3 separate regions of the Homo sapiens genome follow, and all the other regions are linked to region 1. Evidence: promoter capture Hi-C in human tissues and cell types (Jung and others, 2019). All regions are on one chromosome and are shown on one strand. Each heading gives the region's core, a stretch centred on a gene start or on the middle of the fragment in contact. The rest is flanking DNA. Distances are from core to core; before and after follow the strand shown. Region 1 overlaps SBNO1 (strawberry notch homolog 1). Region 2 holds the start of TCTN2 (tectonic family member 2). Region 3 holds the start of ATP6V0A2 (ATPase H+ transporting V0 subunit a2).

What was found. Contacts are between HindIII fragments. The study calls those that stand out against the background at their distance.
Region 2: the fragment with the promoter of TCTN2 here is called in contact with a fragment that was not itself captured in region 1 in 4 of the 25 tissues and cell types used here (H1 embryonic stem cells, aorta, dorsolateral prefrontal cortex and 1 more).
Region 3: a contact is called between the fragment with the promoter of ATP6V0A2 here and a fragment that was not itself captured in region 1, in 2 of the 25 tissues and cell types used here (pancreas and small bowel).

Annotation. Positions count from the first base shown.
Region 1 is chr12:123,337,055-123,340,218 of GRCh38, reverse strand. The region is part of intron 5 of SBNO1 (strawberry notch homolog 1); the gene reads left to right. Among named protein-coding and RNA genes, the nearest start is that of MIR8072, 26 kb to the left of the region's middle. The HindIII fragment of the contact is 4,997 bases long and covers 1-3,164 here.
Region 2 is chr12:123,669,581-123,672,872 of GRCh38, reverse strand. TCTN2 (tectonic family member 2) reads right to left here and starts at 1,760. Exons shown (of 18, transcript NM_024809.5): 1 at 1,551-1,760; 2 at 1,259-1,366; 3 at 741-817. The coding sequence starts at 1,632. The HindIII fragment of the contact is 13,736 bases long and covers 120-3,292 here.
Region 3 is chr12:123,710,315-123,713,754 of GRCh38, reverse strand. ATP6V0A2 (ATPase H+ transporting V0 subunit a2) reads right to left here and starts at 1,402. Exons shown (of 20, transcript NM_012463.4): 1 at 1,073-1,402. The coding sequence starts at 1,189. LOC105370042 (a long non-coding RNA gene) reads left to right here. Exons shown (of 3, transcript XR_945477.4): 3 at 1-989. RefSeq lists a silencer at 1,028-1,577. The HindIII fragment of the contact is 14,070 bases long and covers 569-3,440 here.

The DNA of each region.
Region 1 (3,164 bases), core at 562-3,061:
TGTATAACATTGTTAATATGTAGTAGGTTTCTACAAGAAGTATATTTATTACATGATTCTACCTTCAGTAAGCAAAATTTGACAACCATCTGGATTAAGTAGTAATAATGAAAAGTACATCAAATGGTATGCAATGTGCTACTCACAATAAAGGTTAGGAATTTGGAGGAAGAGGTGACCTTCCTGAACTCTAGTGGCCTGGTGGACTTTATGGAGAGGGAATAATGGAGCTTGGGTTTTGAGTATGACGAGACTTTGAGGTGGGATATTAGGAAGGGAGCTAAAGGATTAATGGGCACAGAGGGGAGGTAGTGAGTATGTGCTTCGGTGAAAATAAGCCAGGAAGCTTAGCTTGTAGAAAGAAGTGGGAATAGTAGGTCTGGGCTCCATGGAGGGTCCTGAATTGAGGTTTTTATTGTTGTTGTTGTTTTTGAGATGGAGTCTTGCTCTGTTGACCAGGCTGGAGTGTAGTGGTGCAATCTTGGCTCACTGCAATCTCCGCCTCCCAGGTTCGAGCGATTCTTCTGCCTCAGCTTCCTGAGTAGGTGGGATTACAGGTGCCCACCACCAGCCCTGGCTAATTTTTGTGTTTTTAGTAGAGACGGGGTTTTACCACATTGGCCAGGCTGGTCTCGAATACCTGACCTCAAGTGATCCCTCCAGCTCGGCCTCCCAAAGTGCTGGGAGGCCAAGGTGCCCTGTGCTGAATTGAGTTTGAAGGACTTTGGACTTAGTCTAGCACCATTGAGCCAGTAGACATGGAGGGACCTGTTAGTGATTCAGGAGAAGTTGGGGTGCAGACTGAGTAAAGGGGTAGGGAAGACAGATTCGGGATGAGTAGGAGTAGGCAAAAGAGAGAGGTTGGAAAGTTGGTTAACCTAAGGGGGAAGTAAGAAGGGGTACTAGAGACCTTGCAGAGGGGATTGAAAAACGGAGAGGGGAAAGGAAAAAAAGAGATGACTGTACATAACGATACCAAAAGAATTTTGGGACTTGGTTCTAGAATATGGAATTGGAGACAGTGCAGCAAACTGTAGCTGAGGTTTTGAATGGGAACCAGGAGAACAATAGTGCTACTGGCGGTACCCAGTTTACTTAGTGATTGTCTACCAACAGCACTTGGAAGGTGATTTTTGGAAACTAAGAATGCATATTTCTTCAAGAAATGTTTTATGTGGTTCTCACATTTCCATTTCAGTCCATTATATACCAAAAGTTTTTTATTGGCTTAGCAGTTAAGTAACATCTCAGAGAGACTGCAAACTGATAGCCCATCAACCAAACTAGTCGGGGAGGGGGGGGGGGGCGTGTGTGTGTGTGTGTGTCGGGGTGTGTGTGTGTGTGTGTTTAGACGGTGTCTTGCTGTCACCCAGGCTGGAGGGCAGTGGTGCAATCTCAGCTCACTGCAACTTCTGCCTCCCAGGTTCAAGTGATTCTTCTGCCTCAGCCTCCTGAGCAGCTGGGATTACAGGCGCCCCCCACCACCACCACCACACCCAGATAATTTTTGTTTCTTTTATTTTGTTTATTTATTTTGAGATGGAGTCTCGCTCTGTCACAGGCTGGAGTGCATTGGTGCAGTCTTGGCTCACTGCAACCTCCCCTTCCCGGGCTCAAGCAATTCTCTTCCTCAGCCTCCCAAGTAGCTGGGATTACAGGCGCCCGCCACTACGCCCTGCTAATTTTCTTTTGTATTTTTTAATAGAGATGGGGTTTCACTACCTTGGCCAGGCTGGTCTTGAACTCCTGACCTCGTGATTCACCCGCCTCGGCCTCCCAAAGTGCTGGGATTTCAGGCGTGAGCCACTGTGCCTGGCCTGTATTTTTTAGTAGAGACGGGGTTTTGCCATGTTGGCCAGGCTGGTCTTGAACTCCTGACCTCAGGTGATCCGCCCACCCCTGCTTGCCCAAGTGCTGGGATTACAGGCGTGAGCCACCATGCCTGGCTGACAAATGTATTTTGTTTGGCCTTCATGGTATTTTGAAGAATTTTGAATTTGTTTGCTGACATATACAAATCCTGATTTCCCGGTTATTTTGAAAAATGGGAGTACCTGACAACCCCAGGCCCACGTTCCCCATCTAGGAAGATTTGCCCAGCGTTGTGTAGTGAACATCTACATGGTATGTTGGGCAAACATTTCCCAGGTACCGTGGTCTCCCTCACCCGAGTTATCTCTTTGACCTAAATTTGATGTCAGTTGCTATCTCACATGCACCTGGCTTCAAGGTATTACTTGTTTGTTCCCTGGATATAGTGGTCCTTCAGTATTACCAACTTATCCTTCAGTTATTCAATTATCATCAATTTTATGATGATTTTAAAAAACTATAGGTAGGAGAATAAAGGATGGAGGGAGAAAGGAGGCTGCTTATCTTAACATAGAATACATTTTTATTTTATAAGCGAGGACAGGGTTAGACGGTGGGGGTGGAGAGGACCCAGAATTTAGGTAATTTGCCTAAATTAAAAAACAGACTACACAATTAAATAACAGCAGAATTGGGATTCAAATCTATTCATTTGGCCAGTCCTGTTTTGTCTCGAATTTCCGAAATTGAGTTTTATTTTAGCATAATTTCTGAGAACATTCCAAGTTTTTAGATTTTATCTAAAGACTCCATAGGTTAATGTTGATTGGATGGTTATGTCCCACTTCTTTTCCTTTTCACGTTTGTTATCTATTTGCAACCATATTCTGCTCTAGATTCTGAGGTAAATGAAAAAAGAGCCTGTCCTTCACTTTTAATGCTGTCTCGATCTTGCCTTAATTTGCCTTAACCTGTAGGTTTTTGTTGTCCTCTTCCCTTGGCATACTGAGTTTCACAACAGTTTCTTTATATTCTTCCCTGAACAAGTGCATGCTAATAAACAGTTGCCTAATGATTGTACTGGTAGTGAAAAGTGGCTTATTCCGGATCTTCCTTTATTCCTTTAAGATCCTGTAGAGGAAGAAAAGGGAAGCATAACCGTGGTGACCATTCACTTGGTTTGCCGAGGACAGTCTGGGTTTACTTCTGTTTTCTCAGTGTAATCCTCAATAGCTCCCCAACTCAAATGTGCCAGGGTTTGGAAAATAAATTATATGGCCATCTTATATATGATCACGATTGCATCTGTGGAGACACAGAAGTCTGAAGTAAATTTTTCTGTTCTTCATAAG
Region 2 (3,292 bases), core at 511-3,010, 330 kb before region 1:
CACCATGTTGGCCAGACTGGTCTTGAACTCCTGACCTCAGATGATCCGCCCTCCTCGGCCTCCCAAAGTGCTAGGATTACAGGCGTGAGCCACCGCGCCTGACCAGCTTTTTCTTTTTTTTTAAGAGACAGGGTCTTGCTCTGTTGCCCAGGCTGGATGAAGTGCAGTGGTGCGATCATAGCTCTCTGCAGCCCTGAACTCCTGGGCTCAAATAATCCTCTTGCCTCAGCTACCCCACCCCCCTCCAAGTATCTGGGACTGTAGGTGTACGCCACCCACCTAATTTTTTTTTTAATTGTTTTGTAGAGACGAGGTCTCGCTATGTTACAGGCTGGTCTGGAACTCCTGGGCTCAAGCAATCCTCCCGCCTCAATCTCCCAAAGCGCTATGAGTACAGGCGTGAGCCACGATGCCTGGCATAAAGCTTTTTTGAATCACTGACCCATTTGATGATCTAAAGGAAACTGGTGACCCTCTCATCAGAAAAATGCACATACACACAGAACTTTACATACAATTTCATAGAGTTCACAGACCCACTGAAATACATCCAAGGACTCCTAACCCCAGGGTAAGGAACCCGTGGGCTGGATAAGTGTCTACCAGATCCAACAGCCCACAATTTCATGATTGTTGAGAGCATGGAGAAAGCCATGCCTTGTTAAATAAAGAGAGCACTGCAGAAACCCTAGCTGGGGGCCTCTTCACAGGCTACAGAGAAGGTTTACTTCTGGCCTTACCGCACCGGGGATCACAGTCACGCTCCAGTCTTCCGTCTCATTGTTCAGCACTCCACACGTCGGAATTGGCAATATTCCTAAAGAAAGAAGACCAGCATGCAAAGGCAGCAAGGTCCAGCAGCTCAGGGGGTGCATTGAGTCAGACTGCCTAGGATGGACTCACATTACAGCCTAAGATTGGGCCCTTTACAAGCTGCTTGACACTGGGACAGTGACAACCTCTCTGAACTTGTTTCTTCCTTGGTCAAAGGGGATGAAAAGATATTACTGTTCTTACTAGGAAAATGGGATGATGCACGATGTTAGCTCAATGAATGCTAACCATTATTATTTCAGGCTTTCTTCGAACCTGTCCGTCTGTCCTCTTTGGCCTACAGCAGCCGCCCGATCCTTTTCTCCCCATGCGACTTTGCAGAGAACAGAGGCAGGGGGCCCCAAGGATGCCACCTCTCCAGGCTCCTTGGGAGGTCTGGATCCAGTCCAACCCCCACCCTCCCCAAAAGAGGGCCGGACTTTACCCGCCTCGTCCTGCAGCACTGCCAGGGACACGGTCACACCCTCGGTGTCTCCGACCAGGGACGCGCTGACCGCAGGGCCGGACATTCGGATAAAAGGAGGGATGAAAGCTAGGCGGGAAGGAAAGGGGACAAGGAGGGGTTAGCAGTGGAAGAATCACCGCCTAAGGTGTGTGTGGCGGCTTGCTTTGGCGTTGTCGACTCCCGAAGCTCCCGGGGGAGTCCAAGTCTGGCCCTTTTAACGCCCAGTCCCCTCAGCCCCGGCCCACCGAGGTCACTGCCGCGCCGTACACACCCAGGTCCCCCCACAGAAGCCTCAGGATGCCCTGCAGAAGGAAAAGCCTCAAAAGAAGAGCGGCCGGAGGCTGGAAGCCCATGCCTTAGACCTCGCGGGCCGGGCACAGCAGAACCGCGCCCTCATTAGAACCCAGGAAGGACTCAGACACGAAAACGCAGCAGCCACTGCCCCGCCGCCGCCATCTTGCAAGCGAACGCCCGGAGCTATGGCAACCACCAATCGGCGGCCGGCCAGGAGGAACGCCGCGCTGTGATTGGACCAGTGGCAAGAGCGGGCACCCCGGCCCCGCCCACAAGGCCTAGCATTTTTGCTGCTTGACTCTGGTGGGGAGAGTGAGGGCTGAAAAACTACCTATCCGGTGCTCCACTTAGTACCTGGGTGACGAAACAATCTGTGCACCCAACCCCCGTGACACGCAATTTACCTATATAGCAACCTGTACATGGACCCCTGGGCCTAAAAGTTGAAAACATCAAAATTAAAAAGGTCCTGAAAAGCAGGAGTGCGTGTCCGGCTCAAAAACTGGAGTTTTCCCCTACCCTGGAATTAATCCAACAATAGCCAAGAGCGATCCTATAGACACTGGCTTCTAAATAAAAAGGGTGGGACTTGCTCCTTAATAAACTTGATTTTTATACGGATTTGTTTTAGGGGTGAGTAGAAAAAGGGGATGGGGCTGCCGCGCTGTGTTTATTATCTTTACTATCGTTTATGATGTATTATTTATATTTTATATTTTTATAAAATAAATATATATTTACAAAATAGATATACTTTGTTTTATATATATATATCAGATATACATACTTGATATATATAAAATACATATAGGCCGGGTCTGGCGGCTCATGCCTGTAATCCCAGCAATTTGGGAGGCCGAGGCGGGCGGATCACAATGTCAGGAGTCTGAGACCAGCCTGATCAACATGGTGAAACCCCGTCTCTACTAAAAATACAAAAAATTAGCCAGGCGTGGTGGCAGGCGCCTATTATCCCAGCTACTCAGGAGGCTGAGGCAGGAGAATTGTATGAATCTGGGAGGCGGAGGTTGCAGTGAGCCGCGATTGCACCACTGCACTCAAACCTGGGCGACAGAGCCAGACTCCGTCTCAAAAATATATTTATTTATTTATTTATCTTATAAAATATATATGTATTTATATTTTATCTTATATATATTTATCTTTTATATAAGTATATATTTTGTAAATTTTATACTTATATGTTATAATTTTATAAAATTTATATTTTTATAATTCTTATCATTATCATTTATTATCACTATTGCTTTTATTATCATTCTCCTAGGTTTTTGAAGGATTTTCTCCCCTGCACAGAGCTCTCAGCACTCTGAAAGCAGATCCAATCACAGAACACACAAGAGGTTTTGCCCAGCAATAGGACAGATGTGAAAGAATCAAAATTCTGTCTGGAAAAAAATTGTTTTTTCTTATATCAGTAGCCTCAGAACATTTCAAATATTGTCACGGCTTGGGGACTGAGAGTGCAGGGTCTGAGGTCAGGCTGCCTGGCATGGGATTTCGCCTTCCCTCCACAGATATTCTCAGCTGTTAAGTGACTTTGGGCAAGTCAACCTCTCTAAGTTTCAGCTTCCTCATCTATAAAAAAGGGATGATAATAATCCTTCCTTGGGGATTGTGTGAGGATGAAATGAGGTAACATATCTAATGAGGTTAAACCAATGGCTGGCATACAGTAAGCACTCAGTTAATGATCAG
Region 3 (3,440 bases), core at 153-2,652, 370 kb before region 1:
GGATTTCAATTCAGTCAGTAAGTACTTGCTTCACGGTCTCCCTTCCACACCCTGTTCTTTGCCTTCTTAGCACTTATCACAGCTCATAATCAGAGTGTGTTTAATCTGTCTCCTCCCACACTGGAAGCTCCAGGAACACAGGGACTGTGTCTGCCTTGCTCACCACCGAGTCTCCAGCACCAAAAACAGTGCCTGAACATAGCGGGCAGTCAAGAAAAGCTTGTCTGTTCATTCAACAAATGCCTATCGATGCCAATGACTGCCAAGGACTGCGTTAAGGTACTTACTCTCAGAGGTTGACAGTCCTTGGTGGAGACAAACAATAAACAAGTAAATGGACAAACAAATGTTTATTATTACTTGTTGGGGAGACAGCTTCCACTCGACAAACAATGACTGAGTTCTTAAGTCCTTACACACAATGGTATGTACAGCATTAAGCATCAGTGACCAAAACACAAAAATCCCTCTCCTCAAGCAGATGACATCCAGCTCCTTCCCATTTCTGGCTCTGTCTGGGCTCCTCCTGTTCCCTCCAACAAGGACCCTCTCCCCAGATCTTCCCCACGGCTGGCTCCTTTCTATTTGGGTCTCAGCTGAAATATCACCTTCTCCGGGAGGCTTCCTCGACAATCCCTTCACACTCACCTCCCGCCCGAATCACCTTCACATCACCCCGTTTCTTCTTTATGGCAAACCTTTTCTGGTTGACCTATTTATTTGGTTAATGCGCCCCCCTAACCCCCGTAAAGTTCCAAAAGGACTCCAAGAGGCCTTTGTGGGATTTGTTCTCCCGCTGAGCTCGGTGCCCGGAGCTGATGAAGACCACACGGGCGATCCTAACTAACTGGGGCAGAGCAGCCGCCGACCACACAGACGGCCGGCGACCCTGGAGTCAGCCCCGCGCTCCGGGAAGCTTTGGCCGCTGAGCTGGGGTGTCATCTTCCCCGTCTGGACAATGGGGACGGGGCGCGCCCTTCCTCGGTGCTCCCCGCGGGAGGGCCCCAGCGATGCGCGGGATTGGGGGCGCCAGGAGAGCAGGTGCGGCCCGCGTCTCCCGGGCGACACTCACGTCTCGGAACTGGACCAGGCCTTTCTCGCCCAGGGCGCTGAGGCACTCGTAGGCCGTGCCCGACTGCAGGAAGAGCTGCGCCAGGCACATGGTCTCGCTCCGGAACAGGGACCCCATGGCGGGCCGACCCGCGCCCGGAGGGGCTCGATGGGCGGCGGCGGCTCCGAGCCGCGCGGGCCCGCACACTCAGCCGGTGCGGCCCGGGCCTCGAGCTCTTCCTGTGGCCTGGCCGCGGCCCCGCACTATGGGGCTCCAGACTGCAGCGGCCGCCCCCGGTTCTGCCACCGCGGCCGCCGCTCCAGCTGCCGCCACAGCAGTCCGCGAGGTCCCGCCCCCAAGCCACTGCCGGTTCCGGTTCCGCCCCCGCGTCCCGCCCCCCCCGCCGGCCGACCAATGGACGCCCGAGGTTGTCGCCGCACGACGTGGCGGCAGGGCCAACCAGCGCGAACCCGGCGGGTACGACCACTGCAGCTGGCGCTCCGCCGGACTGGACGCAGAGCTAAATCCCGCGCGGCTCCCCGGCTTTCCTGGAGGAGTCTCGCCGAGTGTGCACGCCGCGAAGCTCACCCGTTCCTAGTGCACGACCCTGTGCTGCTGCGTGTGTGTGTGTGTGTGTGTGTGAGAGAGAGAGAGAGAGAAACGGAATCTCACGCAGTCCCACAGGCTGGAGTGCAGTAGCGCGATCTCGGCTCACTGCAACCTCCGTCTCCCAGGTTCAAGCGATTCTCCAGCCTCAGACTCCCCAGTTGCTGTGACTACAGACGCGCGCCACCCGCGTCCAGCTAATTTTTTTGTATTTTTAATAGAGACGGGGTTTCACCATGTTGGCCAGGCTGGTCTCAAAACTCCAGAGCTCAGGTGATCCGCCTGCCTCGGCCTCCGCAGTGCTGGGATTACAGGCGTGAACCACTGCGCCCGGCCCTGCTGCTGGTTTTTTATGGATAGGGTTTCCCTCTGTGGCCCAGGGAGGAGTGCAGTAGCACGAGCTCGGCTCGCTGCAACCTTGACCTCCTGAGCTCAAGCGATCCTCCCACCTCAGCCTCTGGAGGAGCTGGGATTACAGACGCGCGCCATCACACCCGGCTAATTTGTTTTTAAAATGTTTATAGAGAAGGGGTTTCATCATGTTGGCCAGGCTGGTCTCGAACTCCTGAACTCAAGCAATCCTCCCGCCTTGGCCTCCCAAAGCGCTAGGATTACAGGCGTGATCCGCCGCCCGGAGGGATCCTAGGCTTCTTCGTGAAGTTGGAGTGTGCAGCCAGCATCCCAATCCAGTTTTCAAACATTTCCCACCGACCTCGCAAGACTCCTCCTGCTCAGTTGCAGTCTCCCCTTCCCGCCCGGCCTGGCCACCACAGGACAATTTTGTCTCGCTAAATTTGCCACCTCCAGGCTTGTCCTGTCGATGGAATCACACAGCACCCAGTGTGTGTTCCCCACACTGACCGGGAAGCAGTGGCCCCCCGCCCCAGGCCGCAACCTCACCGCTGTCCCAGTCGAGTCTCTGCTTACATATCCCCTTCCTTGAGACTGTCCCTGGAGTCACATCCTTGTTCTATTTCCTTCACTGCACCTGCCACCATCTGAAATTATCTTGTCTGTGTGTTAGTGCCAGTCTTCCCTGCTAGAATGGAAGCTCCACCAAGGTGGGGACATTGTTTCTGCCACTGTGGTATCTCCAAGCCCCAGCACATAGTAGCCACTCAATAAATAGTTCATGAATGCATACATAAATGTATAAACTTAAAAAAGTTAAAACCATAGACACTCCAGACCCCATTCTGCCAAACTGAGTTTTTTCCTTCTTTTAAGTACAAAAGGCGTCCTCACAAAGCCCACAAAATCAAGCTAAATTACCTGTCATTTGGAAGTTTTAAATTTATTTTCCATAAATACCTGAAATCCAAAGCTAGTTACACTAGGCTGGGTGCCCTGGCTCACTCCTGTAATCCCTGCACTTTGGGAGGCTGAGGCAGGTGGATCACTTGAGGTCAGGAGTTTGAGACCAGCCTGGCCAACATGGCAAAACCCCGTCTCTACTAAAAAAATATAAAAATTAGCTAGGCGTGGTGGTGGGCACCTGTAGTCCCAGCTACTCGGGAGGCTGAGGCAAGAGAATCGCTTGAACCTGGGAGGTGGAGCTTGCAGTGAGCTGAAATGGCATCCCTGGACTCTAGCCTGGGCAACAGAGTGACACTCTGTTTCAAAAGAAACAACAACAACAAAAAGATACAGTAAGAACTGTGAAGGTGAATTCAAAGGCTGAAGTTCAGACAATAATTGACTCAGACCCCAGCTCCGTCAGTCCAGTACTGACCCAGATTCCTGAGTCAGCCCTAGAGGGGTCGGGTGAAGGCCCAACACCACC